Regions from separate parts of the Homo sapiens genome. Here region 1 is linked to region 2. Evidence: promoter capture Hi-C in 16 types of primary human blood cells and fetal thymus (Javierre and others, 2016). All regions are on one chromosome and are shown on one strand. Each heading gives the region's core, a stretch centred on a gene start or on the middle of the fragment in contact. The rest is flanking DNA. Distances are from core to core; before and after follow the strand shown.

Region 1 (3,613 bases), core at 1,114-3,613, 73 kb before region 2:
GAACCATCTCAAAGGCTTGATGGAAGGGCTGTCTAAGAACGAAATTCTAGGACTCTCATTTCCTTTTTCTCTTCTCCTGGCCCCGGAGCCTGTTTCTTTCTACCAAATCTCTCAATTTAATAAGGAGTGCCCCCCTAGAACAAAATCCAATCACACCGTTCAAATTCTTAACTGCTTGGCCCAACCCCATCCACAGTCCTACTCCAACTCCGCAAAGCAAAATTAGAAAGAGTCTCATGTGTGGATTTCCACCATTATTTTTAAAACATTCACTCTCATAACTGAGAGAGATATTAATTAATTTGTTCTTACTGGTTCAAATCTGCTGGAGAGAAAGATGACAACAGGGGGAACTATACTTACATCACTCATATTAATTGCATTTGCCTTTGCCAAAATAATCTGGGGGATATCAGGCATGATGTGGACTTTGGTTTTGTCAGCCTCCCATGCTTGTTTGTAGAGATGCTAGGAAAAAAACAGTGTAAATTAGTGTTTAAAATCTTAAAAGAAGCTCACTTAGTACATACATATCATTGTACATATATATCAATATTTCATGTATTTTTATTAGCTAGGTTTAAATTAATTAATTTATTTATTTATTATTTTTGAGACAGAGTCTTGCGCTGTCACCCAGGCTGGAGTGCAGTAGTGCAATTATGGCTCACTGCAACCTCCACCTCCCAGGCTCAAACAATCCATCCTCCCACCTCAGCCTCCTGAGTAGCTGGGACTACAGGCATGCACTACCATGCCTGGCTAATTTTTGTATTTTTTGTAGAGATGGGTTTTTGCCATGTTGCCCAGGCTGGTTTCAAACTCCTGAGCTCAAGCAATCCACCTGCCTTCACCTTCCAAAGTGCTAGTATTACAGGCATGAGCCACTGCACCTGGCCCAAAAAAATTTTAATGGAAAAGTTGCTTATTCAAACAATACAGCAGGGAGGATGTAAGATGGAAAGTAAAAATGTTTTTTCCCCTTATCTTACAGCATGAAGGTAGCATTTGCCTCCTAAAATTTTCTGTGTAAATTAAAACAGACATATAGTCCTTTTTAAATATACATGAAGTCATGTTCTACATCTTGATTTTTAACTTAATAATATAGGTTAGACATATTTGAACCTTCTTAAAATAATTTACTTCATTCATTTTTAGAGCTACGTAGTATTTCATTAGGAGGTATAATCTAATTAATTTAATCAGTTCTCTGGTGATGAATATTTAACTTATGGCCTCTAGCCTTTTTCTGCTACAAGCAATGTCATGATCCTTGTGGTGGACATGGAGATGTGCCACCAATATACTCATTCAAGGAAGGACCTGATTCCCCAACTTTTGGCAAATAGTCTCCAGTCACCAGCTGTCTCACTCAAGAGTATGCCCTTCCCAGATAACCACATTCAACAACTCATCGAAGTGGGGGTACAAAGATCTAGCCATTTCAGTTCAGTGCAGGTCTCTACTGACAGAGACACTTGAGAGCCCTCTGTGGGACTGGCCAAGACTTTGTCATGCCAGCATCACTGTTCAACTTCTCCTCCGGCCTAGTCCTTCTTCCCAAAGACTAGGATCCCTAAAAAATACTCTGTACTCCAATTTTCATCTTAGCGTCTCCTTTCAGAAACCCTAAACTGCAAAACATATTCTTGTGTGTATGTATGTATGTATGTATATCTTTGCACACATATATAAGGATTTCTATAGGGTAATGATACCTGAGTTTTAAATTTTAACGAACATTAACAAATGGCCCATTAAAAGTTTGCTTTAACAGAAACTCCCTTACAGATATTGCATGTAACACAGCTATTTAATATTTGCAAATGCAATAGATGATAAATGCTATCTCTTTGTTTTAGCCCATCTTAATTAAAATAAGAATAACCTTTTTCTGGACTAGAGATTGGCAAACTTTTTCTGTATAGACAGAAATTCCTTAAATTTCAGGCTTTGTGGGCTAAACAATTGCTGTCATTAGCTACTCAACTCTGCTGTTGTAGTCCAAAAGCAGCCAGAGACCACACGCCAACAAACAGCTGTGGTTGTGTCACTATAAAACTTTATTTACAAAAACAGTCATTTTTCTGAACTCTGTTTTAGACCAGCACTATACAATAGAACTTTCTGTAATGATGGAAATGTTCTGCATAATCCAATATGGTAGAACCTAGCCACATAGGCCGATTGAGTACTTGAAATGTAGCTAATGTGAATGAGAAACTGAATTATTAATATGATTTATGTAAATATAAATCAACACATGTGGCTAGTAGTAATAGTATTGGACAGTGAAATGCTAGTGGAAAGAGTGGTGACTAGTTATCAGAATCCCTGTTCTAGTCCAGACCCTGCTGTTGACCCGCTGTGTGGGAGGTGCTTTGCTTCTCTGGGCTGTTCTTTTCTCAACTCTGCAATGGGAGGATTCAACTTGATGGTCATCAAGATGTCTCTTGGTGCCAGTACGTGCTAGTTCTATGATTCTCCTCTTGGCATCATTATCCTGAAATGTTAATCACTAACACTGAAAAAAATAGATATCCTCATGTAGTTTAGATTTAAATCTTAAAAGAGGCACAGAAATTTGTGCCTTGTCTTTGAGGCAGGTCCCTTTCAAGGAGGTTGAGCTCCACAAATCATTCAATTCTCTGAAGACTCCAGGGGGTTTGCTCCGTGGCTTAGCATAATACAGTTCTATCTTTCTAGCACAACTATGGCCATTATTTTCTGCAACTGTTTCACGTTTAGATCCAAATCATCTTTTTCTCTGTTATCAAAGGCATTTCTCATTTTGATCCACCAGTGCTGCTGCAGTTATTTTATTACTTTTAACTTCAAAAACAGATGTTCAAGGTTGATTGTACTTGTTGGTCTTGATCTCTTATTGCAAATCAATGTAAAAATAGAGTAAGTCTTTTCTAAAAGCTGGAATAATTCATGAACCAAGGAAACACTGATGTAGAACAACTGCCCTCAAGATTACCCAGAGAACGTCCTGGTTTGAAATGCTGCTACAGGCATGTAATCTTGGACTTTTCTTTGATCCCATCAAAGCAGAAAGCAAGCTGGGGTTTGGGAGGTGGTTTCCAACACCAGCTACCATCAGGAAATCTGCTGATTCAGTGTCATGAATGTCTATTCAACCTCACCTTAGACAAACAGGACTCATTTTCAAGAGGTGCAGTAAAAGAAAAAGTCCCTATTTATTTGGTTATGTCAATGAGATAGGATGGTTCATTGAAGATTTGAAGACTACTAGTTAGAAATAATTCCTATTCTTTTTTTTTTTAACGACAAGACTCTTTTTCTAGGTAAAATAACCTCAAGTGTGATGCCCTATAACTGTATTAGCAAAACCTGTGGATTAAATGTAAATTATACCTGGATTCTCTCTGATGCATATGAAACACTGCATTATTGAAAGACTTACTTCGTTCATAATTTTTGCATTATTCTGGGCCAAAACCATGTTCATCGAGTCCATGAGTGTGGAATACTTCAAAGTGTCTGGGTGCTGGCGGTACTTCTTTTCACTAATAATCTCCATGGCTTTCTTGTTTTTCTCTGCTTCCAGGGAGCCCAGAGGGAGCCATCCAATGCCCTTCATGAA
Region 2 (3,547 bases), core at 1-2,500:
TTCCCAGCACAGAAATTATCTTATGACATTATAAAAATAGAATTTGAAGCTAAACTATTGTACAAATTCATATATTGTTGCAGGCTAAAGGAGAGAAGACATTTAAAATACAAGTATAAACAGCAGAAGCTTCAAATTTCTTTCTCTTTATTCCTTCAGTGTTGGGAATTGCTACTTCTACATAATCAGTTTAGTTAAAATTGTAAAACGAAATTGAGGTAAGGAAGTGAGAGAGTTTGGACTCAGGGAACAGAGAATTTAAACTTCCAAACACTTAGAGAAAAGACATTTTCCAGCAAAAATTTTAGTGAAAGGTCAGCTTGGGTTTCAGAAGAAGCTGAAATTTATCCCCCAGCACCAAAATTCTAAGAGGGCTGACTTAGTTTTCCATACTGCCCTGATCCACTGTTTGCAATATATCTTAGGCTTCAAATTGGAACCCATAAAAATACATCTGTCAATAAATTTTAAAAGAAAAAAAGAAACCTCAAGGCAATGGGGTTATTTTCTTCCCGAACACCATTGGCTTATACAGACTTTTTCTTTCGTTTCTGTAGCTCTCGTTCAAACCTGAAAAATAACAAAGTTGTAAAGCATTGATTGAGGTACATATAGGATTGTCAGTCCTTAGCCTAAGCTTCTAATGCAGAAAACAGCGAAAGGATCTCTCAAGGCCTCTACAGTTTGACGCCAGAGAGTAAGACTCTTGATATGAAGTGGATGATGAGTTGGAACAGCTGTCCCTTCATCCAAAGATGTTTGCCATGTAAACCAATACCCTGCAGTGGCTGGTTTTGTTAAGCTAGCGAAACTGCCACTCCTCAGGCAAATGAAGCCCAGTAGAACAGGATAAATATAGGAACGTAGAGCAGCGTATCTTCTTTTTCACACTAATATATTTAGAGAAAAATATCAAAGGCAAAAAAATGTTAGACAAGAGAGCCAATTCAGTCAAGCAATAAATTGGTTAGCAAAGGACTTGACTCTAATCACACACGGTACATAGCAGATATTAGTAGGGCCTTAGTAGGGCAATGGGGTTAAACTCTCCTAGCCATATTTCTACCACTAATTTCCTCAGTTATGGCCCAAACCTTTGAAAAATACTTCGAGGGAAGTTGTGGAGCATCTCCTGAAAGAGTATTACAGAAAAAGTCATAAACTGGCCTTACCTTCAATCTACCAAATAAATTTCCTCAGCAGCAAAGCCTCTCCCAACTCTCCCCTCCTGAGAACCCCAGGCAAAAGCCAGCGTGATGCCTGGGCTCCGAATTATCATGTGGCAAGAGCAACCAATCAGATCTTGAGTTGCTCAAATTTCAGAAGCTAAATTTACCAAGTGATCTTCTGAAAACCACCTGTTCATCAATTCCACTAAAGGATAAAGGGTAACAAATTGCTTGCTTAGAACAATTCAAATGGAATCAAATTTTACCTAACTTCCAGCCTGTGCAGTTCAATTTTAGGTTGAATTTCCCATTTACTGAGGCCCCATTCAATGTCATATTCATGCAAAAGAATTTAGTAGAAAATAAGCATGACTTTGAGAGGCTTTAACCCTTCCGTGACTGCTTTCTTCATGTCATTTGTCCAGTCATGGTGGTAAATGTACTCACTCTGGTAAGGTTCACCAGGTGAGCTACAGGTAAGTTACTGGTGCTAGTGTGAAAGAAACTGAGGAATAAGACCCAGTAAACATCAAGTTGACAAAAGCAATTTTTAAAAATGTGATGAGTGAAGTTAAAGGTGAAAATATTTGACAATGGCACTAAATAAGATATCCACAGGGTGTAATTAGAAAGATTAGACCCCATCATTTTTCTGTTACTAAACCAAGAGGGTATACCAAAATCCTATTTAGCACCTTCTCCCTCCTTAGATAAGGCAAGCTGCTAGGAATACAGAACCTCTCTCATATGTAACCGAGTTAGTGATTTTTCTATTAACTCAGATGACTCCTGGCTCCCAGAAGCAACGTGTGAATGCGGACACAAACAGGCTCAATTTCTGAACAGCAAGAGCAGATAACATGGAAATCAGTAACTTATCAGGAGAAAATAATGCCCTATTTGGCAAATCCGAACGTAAGACATTTCCTTCATAAAAATTATCTAACCATTTTCTTAAAACTTGCCTGATGTCTTTCTTGCACTTTCTTTGCTCCTGAAGTATTTTTTCTAATTTAAAATCTAATTCTATCTGTCTGTCTGTCTGTCCTTACACACAGCGACAGAAATCACAGGCTCTTATGTGACAGAGAACTGCTCTTTCTCTGGGTTGCTCCTGTATTCAGGCAAAACCCTGTGAGTCACCTATATCTTGATATGGATTTGAGATTAAACATATTGTAATATTTTTTCTTTTTTAAGTTAAACATTAGAAAGTAATCTCGCTGGGCGTGGTGGCTCACGCCTGTAATCCCAACACTTTGGGAGGCCGAGGCGGGCAGATTGTCTGAGGCCAGGAGTTTGAGAAAGTAATCTCATATTTCAAATACATGTACCTTTTCCCCCTCCATGATTCACATGGTAGTAAATAAAATCTAACAGAATTTTATCATCTTAACTGATTATACCTGTTCATCTTGTATGTTCTCACAGGTCTTATGACCAAAGGATATTTATGTAATATGAGATCACTCACTTGGTAGCTGCAAACTAGAATTGTGACTTACTAGTCATTACATGCTTTAAAATGTGTTGTTGAATTAAAAAATAATACAGGCCCATACTTTAAAAACATAGAGTACAAAATTATATAAAGTAAAAAATGAGCATTGACCTTCTTAGTCATTTTTAAGTTTCAGATATTTTCAATATAGATATTGACATAAATCGATATACTTAATATGCAATAGACATTTTTATGAAACATCACATAAACATATCCTACTCTAATTTCCACAAATAATTCTATTGATTGGATAGAGTATAATAGTTTAATCATTATTAATGGACATCTAGGTTGTTTCGAGGTTTTTGCTATTACAAAATAAAGCAAAACAATGCGAAACAAAACACACAGTAAGCATCCCTGTACATTACCTTTGTATACTTATATGAAATGTATCTGTAAGGTAAATTTCTAGAAATAGAAATACTGAGGCAGAAGATATATGCACATTTTGAAAATTGATAGATATTGTCAAGTTGCCAGTCAAAATCCTTACACTATTTTATGTTTCACTAACAGAGAATGAGGGTTCCTATGTATACACATCTCAATATCCTTAGGGATTATTAGACTGAAAAATCATTACTATCTGAGCTGAATGTGTCCCCCCAAAATTTATATGTTGAAGTCCTACCCCCCGATGTGTGGAAAGTGATTGGGTCATAAGGGTGGAGCCCTCACGAATGGGATTAGTACACTTATGAAAGAGGCCCCAGAGAGCTGCCTGGCACTCTCTCTGCCATGTGAAGTTACAGGGGGATGATGGCCAGCCACAACCTGAAAGAAAGTCCTCACTAGAACCCAACCATGCCAGCACCCTGATCTTAGACATCCAGCCTCTAGAACTATGAGAAGTAAATTTCTGTTTATAAGC

Evidence for each region. The method cuts DNA at HindIII sites, captures the fragments that hold promoters and counts their contacts. A CHiCAGO score of 5 or more calls a contact.
Region 1: a contact is called between a fragment that was not itself captured here and the fragment with the promoter of NEB in region 2, in 2 of 17 cell types (naive B cells and total B cells). The highest score is 5.3, in naive B cells.

The regions. Positions count from the first base shown.
Region 1 is chr2:151,658,702-151,662,314 of GRCh38, forward strand. NEB (nebulin) reads right to left here. Exons shown (of 182, transcript NM_001164508.2): 46 at 3,434-3,613; 47 at 364-468. Among named protein-coding and RNA genes, the nearest start is that of NEB, 74 kb to the right of the region's middle. The HindIII fragment of the contact is 6,754 bases long and covers 1-3,613 here.
Region 2 is chr2:151,733,226-151,736,772 of GRCh38, forward strand. It overlaps NEB (nebulin), which reads right to left and starts at 1,251. Exons shown (of 182, transcript NM_001164508.2): 1 at 1,173-1,251; 2 at 487-570. The HindIII fragment of the contact is 3,549 bases long and covers 636-3,547 here.